Linked DNA regions of Homo sapiens: all the other regions are linked to region 2. Evidence: promoter capture Hi-C in human tissues and cell types (Jung and others, 2019). All regions are on one chromosome and are shown on one strand. The core of a region is centred on a gene start or on the middle of the fragment in contact, and the rest is flanking DNA. Distances in the headings are between cores, read along the strand shown. Region 1 has its middle 5.9 kb from the start of LINC01072. Region 2 holds the start of GJA3 (gap junction protein alpha 3). Region 3 overlaps ZMYM2 (zinc finger MYM-type containing 2).

Region 1 (3,355 bases), core at 704-3,203, 64 kb after region 2:
GAATTTTCCCAAGTCTTTCTTAATATTCCTTTTACATAGCCTCTGATTCTTACTTCCTGGATATGTTTATCTTTTTTTTAATCGAATTAAAGTTTTCCTTTGCTTCCTACATCGTAGCACTTTTTTCCCCATTTCCTTCTTGTTTTGATTCTTTTTCATGTTGAAAGCTTTCTTCAAATGTCTAAGTAGTCCATGCTTACTTAGAGTGCAAACCCCTGAAAGGGAGCTCTGTGGACCTGAGGAGGGTTTTCTGACAGCTGGCATTCACTGTAAGGTCATTGTGCAGAATCGTGATGTCAGCAGCTGTGGGTATCACTGTCATTTGTCCTGGGCTGGTTTAACTCCCCAGAGAGGAATCGTCAGATCTTCTGCAAGCCTGGCCTCAAGCATCCTGGGTGCCAAGCAGTAGGGCTCTCACTTTCAGCTGTAGACTGGCATGCAACCCGCCAGCCTCAGTCTTGCCTGGCCTCTCTGAGTCCCAGGTTTCTCCACCGCACTTTTTCCAGAGACTAAACCTCAACTCCTAGGTGTAGGGAAATGACTGCTAAGGCTGGGGGGAGGATCTCGGAAAGGACTACATGGTTTTTCTGGCAGACTTTTAAACAATCGCCTATATCTGATCTTTAGAGTGTCTGATGCTTCCAATTCCTAAGACTTTTTGGCGTTCTGGGGCATAAATTGCTAGCTTTTGGTTAGCTTTCCTTTTTACCGAAACGTATTTTGACTTTCTAAGCAGTGTGGCGATTAGGCACACAGACTTGGAGCCCAGACTGCCTGTTGGAACCCTCGTTTCATTTGCTAGCTGATGAGTGTGGGCAAGTTATTTGAACTCTGTGCCTCAGTGTCTCCATATGTAAAACGGGGATAATAACACACTACTCTGTAATAGCTTATGGCAGGGGTCAGCACACCACAGCCATCAGTGCAAATCTGGCCCATGGCCTGTTTATGTATGGCCTATGAGCTAAGAATGGTTTTCACATTTTAAACGGTTGTAAAGCATGCAAAAAAACTCATAAAAGAACATGCAACAAAATGTTAGTAAGAGGTGAAGCCAGCTGGGCTTCTGGGTCGGGTGGGGACTTGGAGAACTTTCGTGTCTAGCTGAAGGATTGTAAATGTACCAATCAGCATCTGTGTCTAGCTAAAGGATTGTAACTGCACCAATCAGCAGTCTGTAAAATGGACCAATCAGCACTCTGTAAAGTGGACCAGTCAGCACTCTGCAAAATGGACCAATCAGTGCTCTGTAAAATGGACCAATCAGCAGGACATGGGCAGAGCCAAATAAGGGAATAAAAGCTGGCCACCCCCCCCCACCCACCGCCCACCTGCCTGCCCCCCCACCCCCACCCCCACCCGCCGCAACTTCTCGGGTCCATTTCCATGGTGTGGAATCATAGTTCTTTTCCTCTTCACAATAAATCTTACTGGTGCTTACCCTTTGGGTCCTTACTACCTTTATGAGCTGTAACACGCACCACCAGGGTCTAGGGCTTCACTCCTGAAGTCAGCGAGACTGCGAACTCACCGGAAAGAAGAAACTCCGGACACATCTGAACATTTGAAGGCATAAACTCGGATGCGCCACCTTTAAGAGCTGTAACACTAACCACGAGGTCTGCGGCTTCATTCTTGAAGTCAGCGAGACCAAAAACCCACCAGAAGGAATTCGGGGCACATTAGGAAGCTCACAAAGCCTCAAATAGTTACTCTCTGGCCCTTAATAGAAAGGTTTTCTGCCCTTTGGCTTACAGGGTAGTTGTACTAACTGAGTTAATACAGCTAAAACACTAGAACAAAATAAGGTCATTATTCATCTATTCCCGAAGTTGGAGATATACAGTCAATACATGTAGTAGAGTTTTCAGTGTATTGGTGGCTTTTAAAGCCGTTGAGACTACCTAAGAACCCCAAAGATTTAAGTTAGATAAGAGGCTCAAGAACTGAGCTCTGGACATCCTGACTTTAAAAGGTTAGGGGCTAAGGATGGTATTAGCAAAGAATACTGAGAAGAGCCATATGAAGTAGGAGAAAAATCAGGAGACCATAGAATACAGGCAACTAAGTTTAAAAATATGTTTCATAAAGGAAGTCATGCGCTGCAGTTTAAAATGCTAAGTAATACGATGATTAAGAATTACCTATGGGGCGGGGCATGGTGGTTCACTCCTGTAAGCCCAGCACTTTGGGAGGCTGAGGTAGGAGGATTGCTGGAGCTCAGGAGTTCAAGACCAGCCTGGGAAACATGGTGAAACCCCTTTTCTACAAAAAATACAAAAATTAGCCAAGCATGGTGGAGTGCACCTGTTAGTCCTAGCTACTCAGAAGGCTGAGGCAGGAGGATCGCTTGAGTCTCGGAGGTCCAGGCTGCGCACTACTGCACTCCAGCCTGGGTGAGTGACACAGCAAAACACTGTCTCAAAAAACAACAAAAAAAGAATTACCCACTGGATTTAACATGGAGGTCATGAGTGGCATTTGTAAGAGTAGTCAGTGGGATTTGGGACAAAAACCTTCTTGATATCTGAGAGAAAACAGGAATTACCATAAGGCTAGACAACTTTTGAGGAATTCTGCTCTAAAGGAAAGCAAAGAAATGAAGTGGAGGGAAGTAGAGTTAAAAAAGGGTTGTTTTAAAGATGATCAGATCAACAGCAGCTTTTGTGCTAAAGCGAACAATCAGTATGCTTGCAGGTGGGTAGAAGTGATGGTGGGATCAATGGAAGTCTCTTTTGATTGCTTTAAAATTGTACTTAGGCTGGGCACGGTGGCTCACGCCTGTAATCCCAGCACTTTGGGAAGCCGAGGAAGGCCGATCAGTTGAGGTCACGAGGTCAAGACCAGCCTGGCCAACATGGTGAAACCCTGTCTCTACTAAAAATACAAAAATTAGCCAGGCGTGGTGACACGTGCCTGTCATCCCAGCTACTCAGGACACTGAGGCATGAGAATTGCTTGAACCCCGGAGGCAGAAGTTGCAGCGAGCCGAGATTGCGCCACTACACCCCAACCAGGGCGACAGAGCAAGACTCAGTCTCAAAAATAAATAAATAAAATTGCATTTAAAAGAAATTGAAGTAGAAAGCAAGGTTAGCAACTTAAGTAGGAATTGGCAAGCTTCAGACTGCAGACCAAGTCTTACCTACGACCCATTTCTACGAGGCACACTAGCTAAGGATGGTTTATGCATTTTTTAATGGAGACATTTTAAAAAATATTTTGTGGCATGTAACATTCAAATATTTCCATGAATAAGGCTGTATTAAAACACAGGCACACTTTTTCACTTATTTATGGCCTTTGGTGGCTATTTTGCTACAAGGACAAGGCTGAGGAGCTATGACGGAGCAGC
Region 2 (3,649 bases), core at 414-2,913:
TATAGTAAATAATGCTTGTATGAACATATATGTAAAATATTTGTTCGAATTACATAATATAATTTAAAATCTATATTTTAATAAAAATTTTAAAATTATTACAATATTATATTTCCATTTTTATCCTCAGAATACCAATAATAGCATTTGGCAAACAGACTACAAATATTAACAATTCCTAGTGCTTTTGTGATCAACAAAAAAAAAAAAACTATTCCTGTGCTTCTCAGAGAAAATGTTTTAAATGAGAAAAATATTCAAGTATTTTAAGACCTTCAAAGGTAGCATTTTTCAATTAAAAATTAAAAACTAAGTCTCCGTAACTACTACCTACTCCATACATACACCGCAAAGTTCCCAAAGGGAGAAGATATTTTAGATGCGCCTTTAGGAGCTTAGTTTTTCCTCCTTGGGATAACTTTAAATTCAGATCTCAGCAGAACAAACGCATTTTTCAGGGCAAGCCAACTGCTAATCCGAGTAGATCTAAACGCTAACGAAGGCAGCCGACGGAAGCTGCTCCATGAAGACACGAAAACTATCAGACTTGCATTTTGCCACATTCCTGGAATAAACTTATTACTCATAAAGGTGATTTTGAAGCCATTTCAGCTTGTGGAATGATCACCGAAATGCAGTCCACCGATATTTGTTAATATCCCAGGCTGGTCAAACCCCACTCCAGACCTTGGGGGACGGGGAGGGGACCCGCGGCCTCTCTAGGCTGTGCCCAGACAGCAGACAAGGACGCGATGCCGCCCTCGGTCCGCGGCCTTCCGCGGTAGGCGTCCCTCTCAAGCGTGGTAAAACCACCCCGAAGGGAACAGAAAACGTTAAAATCTTCGTTGGGCGCCAGCAGGCAGGTTAGGCCTCGCCCTGGCATCTCGTCTCCAGGACCAGATGGAGCGAGTGACCCGCGGGGACACCTTCCCGGTCACCTCGAGCGCAATAAAACAAGTTCTTTTTTTAAAAATAAGCATCCGTGTGCCTGCCGGCTAAATTAAGTGTGTCTGAAGAGAAGCAGGATGGCGGCCGCTATTTATAACCTCCCGCCCCGCCCGGGCGCCACTCCTCGACAGCACCCACGCTGTGCCCGGCGGCGCTTCCGCGGGGACTTCCTGCTCGGTGGTCCCCGCCCCGCCCCGCGCCAGCCGTCCGGAACCCGCGTCCCCAGGCGGCTGCAGGCGGGCGAGACCTAGGTGCCCGACGCCCACGCGCCTCCGACCGTGGGAGCGCCCGGAGAGCAGCTACCTCGCCGGGCCTGCGAAGCCCAGGACAGGCGCGAGCGGGGCGCGGGCTGGCGCATCTGCGTGCGGTGGGCGCCCCGCAAGCGGGTCGGGCCCGCCCCAACAGCCCTCGGCTCTCCTCTCACGTCCCGCGCGGGCATGCCCCGGAGTGCGTAGGCGGCAGGGAAGAGCCCCCGCGTCCACATCCCCAGGGCCCGCGCAGGTGCGGGATGGGGATGCAGGCGCTAGGCATGGACGTGCGCGCGGGGTAGGGTGTGGAATGCGGACGCGGGCGAGTGCTGTGGCTGCGCGTACAGGGTAGGGATGCGGGGGCGGTAGGTGTGCGTGCTGGGAAGCGCGCGGGGCGGGGCTGTTCGGAGGCGGCGGGGGCGTGGCGCGGCGTCCTGAGCTGCAGCTTGGGGGCGTCGGGCGCAGCGCACACTGGGGCTGCAGGGATGGCGATCAGGGCGGGGAGGTCGGGCCCTGGCGCGGGGCGCACGCGTGAAGCAGCACCGCACGTGTGAAAGGAATTCTTTTCAGAGCGGCCGGGAGCCCTGCTCCGGAGGAACGCACCCGGGTCGCCGCCGCGGCAGAGCGGGGTAAGGCGGGCCGGGCGCCCCGGAGGCCAGGCACAGGGGCCGAGGGCAGCGCGGGGCGGGGACGGGCGGGTCGGCGGCGCAGCGGAGCTGCCGGGCGAGCCCAGCGGGCTGAGACTGCCGAGCTGGGAAGCCGAGCCCCGGCACGTGTGCGGCTCCCAGCCCCCTAGGATTCTTTCAGGATTCTTCAAAAAGTTGTGGGGAGCTCGGGAAATTTGTGAGAAACTTTTGGAATAATTGATCTTCCTCCTTTGCTCCTGGAGGTCTGGAGAGCAGCGCCTCGTTTGGCTTCCCTTGATGGACAGTCCAAGGCCGAGTTTAAGTTGTTTTCCTGGGGTTGTTTTCCCCCTCGGGTGGAGGAAGCCGGGCTGTCCCGGACCGTCAGGCTGTAGGGCTCCTAGCGATGCTGAAATGCTTGAAAACTCTAAGCAGATGTCACCGCGCCAGCTAACGGCGCGCACCCAGCCGTCCACGGGCATTCAGCATCGCCGTGCTCCTAAAAGTCCTGTTGGGATTGTTTAGAAACAAGGTTGGCTCGCCTACATTTTTTTCAGAAACTTTTTAAAACTTTTTATTTTTAAGAAACACTGTAGCTATTAATGCCACGACCAGATTTCTCGACCTGTATGTTTGTTATGATGTGTTCAACTATAAGGAATTTGCAGAGGAGTGGAAAAGCACTGTCCGAGCCCCTTCCCGTAGGAGACTTGAGAAAACAAACGGCAGTGACGCGGCTGCATTTGCTTTGTTGCCGACTCCACACTAGTGAGCAAAATTCATCCTACCATGTAGAGTTCTCGGTTCGTGAATATGTGACTGCAACTTTAGAACTCCAGTTTTTATTTTATCAAGATGTCTCCAAAACATGCCATTTAAAAATGATTCTATACAAACAGCTGACAAGCGAATTATGGGTCTCATCACCCAGGAATTAAAAACCATGGTGATTTATGATGTGCGCATCACTTCACTGGCGGTCCATCCATGTGCAAGACAAACATTAAAAGATTAAAGAGGAAAAAAGAGGGATTTATTTTCCGAATATCAGTGTGTTCAAAGTAAACATCAGCTAGTTTGGCACAGATTCCACCTGCTCAGCAGTTTGGTTCATATCGAGATAAGCATCTCATAAGGGCAATGCATGTGTTGCTGTAGTGGAAAGTAATTCACGAAACGGTACTACTCTAACAAATCAGACAGTACTGTTTCTTAACCAGGAACCGTTAACTGGCTGAAAGCTGTCTTAAAAGAATGGCGGGTAACAAAATTTTTTGCCAATAAGGAAAATATTTTTGACCCAGTTTTCTTGAATGTTACTCACATTTTAACTTATTATATTCATTTCTCTTAGCTAAAATAACGTGTACACACTACATTTGAAACGAAAAATTACGTTTATCGCAGCCTTTTTTTTTTTTTTTTTTTTTTTTTTTTTTGAGATGGAGTCTCGCTCTGTCACCCAGGCTGGAGTGCAGTGGTGCGATCTCGGCTCACTGCAACCTCCCGAGTAGCTGGGACTACAGGCGTCTACCACCATGCCTTCTTCCTCCCTCCGCTGGATGGTAGCTATTCCCAGTACTATGTAGTACTTACATTTTGATCTGTTTTTTGCCACTCTGCCTCTCTCATAGATTGCAAATGAATCTCCTGAGAGTGAGGACTGGATCTTAATTGTTTTGCTGTCCTCAGTGTGTGGCACAGTGCCACACACAATAGGTAATAATGTTTTATAATAATAATAAATGTTTACTGAATTGAGGAGGGAAAAAATCCAATATATGTGACAACAGCATATATGTCTCTAAAAAACAGTATGTTTCTGCAATT
Region 3 (3,204 bases), core at 461-2,960, 110 kb after region 2:
AGGAAATGGAAGCTTAATACTTTATTCACTGATTCCGAACAATGCAGGAACCAAAAGTAGAGTTACAGCCTGACTACCTTGTTCACTGAGAACCTGAAATAAAAGCCAAACCCATTGTATCTACTCTCTATAAACCTTCACAACAGCCCTGCAAAATGGGTACTGCAAACTAAGATCTAGAAAGATTAAATGACTTGACTAAGGTCAAATATTAAAAATGCAGAGATAGGATTCAAAAGGCAGACAACCAATTCAAAACCTAGGCTTTAGCCTGTACCCTAAGCAATAAAGACAAAATGAGTTACTATAAATGAGCAGAGAATAAATACCCTAACACAATACAAATAAAATGCTACAAGAAGATTCTCAATTTAACATTTAAAACAGAAATCTGTATTAATTCAAATCATTACATGTACTATGCTGACTCTTAGTAGTAGTATTTCCGTTTATACAATAATTTGGAAGATCAAGGGCATAAAATTAAACACATTCCACCTCAAGAATTTGAACAATGGAATCACTTCATCGTTCTACAATTAGACACTTGGTTTTTATAGAATCAACACTTGAAGCTCCCTTCTTCTTTTAAAGGTTCAAAACAAATTTAGATAATTTCCCTCTACCCAAAGAAAAAAGGGGCAAGATTAATACCAATTTACAAATGTAAACAAAATAGGCATGTATTTTTTCAGCATGAAAAAACAGTAAGTGAGAACTCAATACTAATAATTCCAACTTTAATGCCATAATCAAAATTTTGGAGGTTGTGAACTTTTGTTTCTTTGACATCCACTCATGCAAACTCCTAGTGAAGTGTTTGGAATTCAGCTAAAATATGGTGGCCAATTTAAAAAGATCATTAATGACCATCATTCCTTACCAACACCAACACAACTCCACTCTAAGCCGCATTCCCTAGCCATTTGCAAAAAAGAACTATTAAGACATCATAAAAAATGAAATAAATGGGACACAAGTCTCTGGTTTTAAAAATACTGCATCATCTATTTTGTGGTTTTCTTGTCATTGTGAAATCAAGGATAGCAAACTAAGAGGGAGGGGGAAAAAAAAAAAAAAACAAGTCACAGGTTCAAACAAATCTAAGTAACAGCCAGGTACTAAACTCTGACTCAAAAACCTTAATCCAACCTATCAGCTAAACAGAAATTTCATTTTCAATAACTGGCAAAAGGTCATTCAGCCTATCCTGACCCAGTCCCTTTCATGTCTTGGATAGTTTCAACTTTTCATTTTTGACTGATATATACATCTTTTTAAACTTTCCTATCCATTTGCTCCCTATTTCACCAAACAAACCTAATTTTCCAGGGGAGAACCATGAATACGAAAAAGATAGGGGTATTTTACAGACATTTTAAGCAGAAATCCTTTATGACTTCTCAATACAGCTTTCTGAGCACAATGGAGTGATTCGCTACAAATTTTTTTTAAAAAAGAATGCAGGGATAAAAGGTGATTGGGTACTATGCAAAGCATAGGAATTCTCCGGTGACCAAAAATATATATTTAAGGCAATATTTGAATATTAAATATTATTTTCCTAAAAATAATTTCAAAAAAATTTTAAAAAAAATGGATATAGCTGTTTATAAAGAAAAATTATACAAGTCTAATATTATTAATTTAAAGCCCATAAATCATACTGTTAAGACTATTAGAGGGCATTTGTATTAAGAATTTAATATTGCCACCATTCATTACTTCTTTGGAAAACAAATCAAAGCCTGTGTTAAAAAACTGTGCAATCGAAAAGTAATACAGTTTAAGAAAAGCTCAGGTCTTAATAGAGATACTCTTGGGAAACAGTGGACCTTTTGAAATATTATCTTTACCAATTTATCAAACACCTTCTAGCTATTATTGTATTACAATACTAAATTCTTTTTCTTAAAAACTTTTAAACTTACAAAGATCAAAAGAACTATCAGGTTTTTCATTACGCCTGGAAACATTTACTTGAGGAAAAGTAAAATCTACTTCTTTCTAAAAAGGTATCTGGGAGAAGAAAAATACGTTAATTTTATTTTCAGCATTTTTTGGTTGCATGATGTCACAGATTTCTTATTCCAATTTAGAAGAGAAAGAATTTAATAAATCTCTATTTTAAATCTAGAAGCAAACCATGATATAGACCAGAAAACACAGCTCATTCAGTGTCTTGTCAAGTAAAACAATTTTTAAAGCATAAAACTAAATTTAAATAAACAAAAAAGTAGAAGTTATTTATACTATAGGTAGTTGTCTCTCAATCTAAAGTGCAAAGGTAAGAGAAGGTAAAAATACAATGTGTGTGTACTACCATTTAAGAAATGTTCATGGCTAAACATGAAATAATAGCCAGATTGGCTAGCTGTTGATTTTTAAGTTTCTGTGATGAAGCACTTTTTTTCCTTTGGCTTGAAGCTTATTTTTCTGATAAGCCGGAATGATTTGTAAGGGTCATAGGTTTTAATGTACTAATATATAAACTTGTGAGTATTTAAATAAAAAAAGATAAACCATAAAAGGGGGGGACCCCATAATTAGTTTACCACATTTTCAAGATGATACCATGGCAACAGTGAATAGAAGGAATGCATGGGGGGGTATAAGAAAATACAGTCTGACTCAAGTAGAAAGCACAGAGAATAAAGTTACCATTTGATTACAATAATGGCTGCAGGCAGCAAAACCAAGGATGAATGAAGAGAGACAACTCTTCACACTTCAAAGATTGTGCTGCATATTGATCGTACAGAAACATCAGCATTGCTACTTGCTTTATAAATTTCTACCATCTAACAAAAATATTCTTACCTTTATTCCTCAGATTAGTATAATATATAACCTATTATGTATATTATACAAAGATCTGTTTAAAATAAGGCATGAATATATAATGTATTTAAGGTACAGAATACTGACATTAAACATAACTAGATGATTGTAACCCGGTATTTGACTAAAGTATTTCTTGTATATTCTGAAATGCACTGCTTCATTAAATCCTCATCACTGAATTCTGCATAAATGAAAACAGAAATAACTATCTTTTAAAAAACATAGCAAGGTGGAACACACGACATCTACAATAACATGGTCTTTTGTCAAAGAACGTACCTTTGCTTCCCAAAAAAAGGGAAACAAATCCCAAACTTCCCTATTCTTTAATATATATATACACACACACACATATATACA

Evidence for each region. Contacts are between HindIII fragments. The study calls those that stand out against the background at their distance.
Region 1: a contact is called between a fragment that was not itself captured here and the fragment with the promoter of GJA3 in region 2, in 7 of the 25 tissues and cell types used here (IMR-90 fibroblasts, aorta, hippocampus and 4 more).
Region 3: a contact is called between a fragment that was not itself captured here and the fragment with the promoter of GJA3 in region 2, in 2 of the 25 tissues and cell types used here (aorta and stomach).

Annotation. Positions count from the first base shown.
Region 1 is chr13:20,095,161-20,098,515 of GRCh38, reverse strand. No RefSeq gene overlaps it. Among named protein-coding and RNA genes, the nearest start is that of LINC01072, 5.9 kb to the left of the region's middle. The HindIII fragment of the contact is 4,460 bases long and covers 1-3,355 here.
Region 2 is chr13:20,159,066-20,162,714 of GRCh38, reverse strand. It overlaps GJA3 (gap junction protein alpha 3), which reads left to right and starts at 1,663. Exons shown (of 2, transcript NM_021954.4): 1 at 1,663-1,825. RefSeq lists silencers at 1,013-1,372, 1,603-1,682, 1,843-1,932. The HindIII fragment of the contact is 27,118 bases long and covers 1-3,649 here.
Region 3 is chr13:20,046,682-20,049,885 of GRCh38, reverse strand. The region is part of intron 12 of ZMYM2 (zinc finger MYM-type containing 2); the gene reads right to left. Among named protein-coding and RNA genes, the nearest start is that of LINC01072, 54 kb to the left of the region's middle. The HindIII fragment of the contact is 4,455 bases long and covers 1-3,204 here.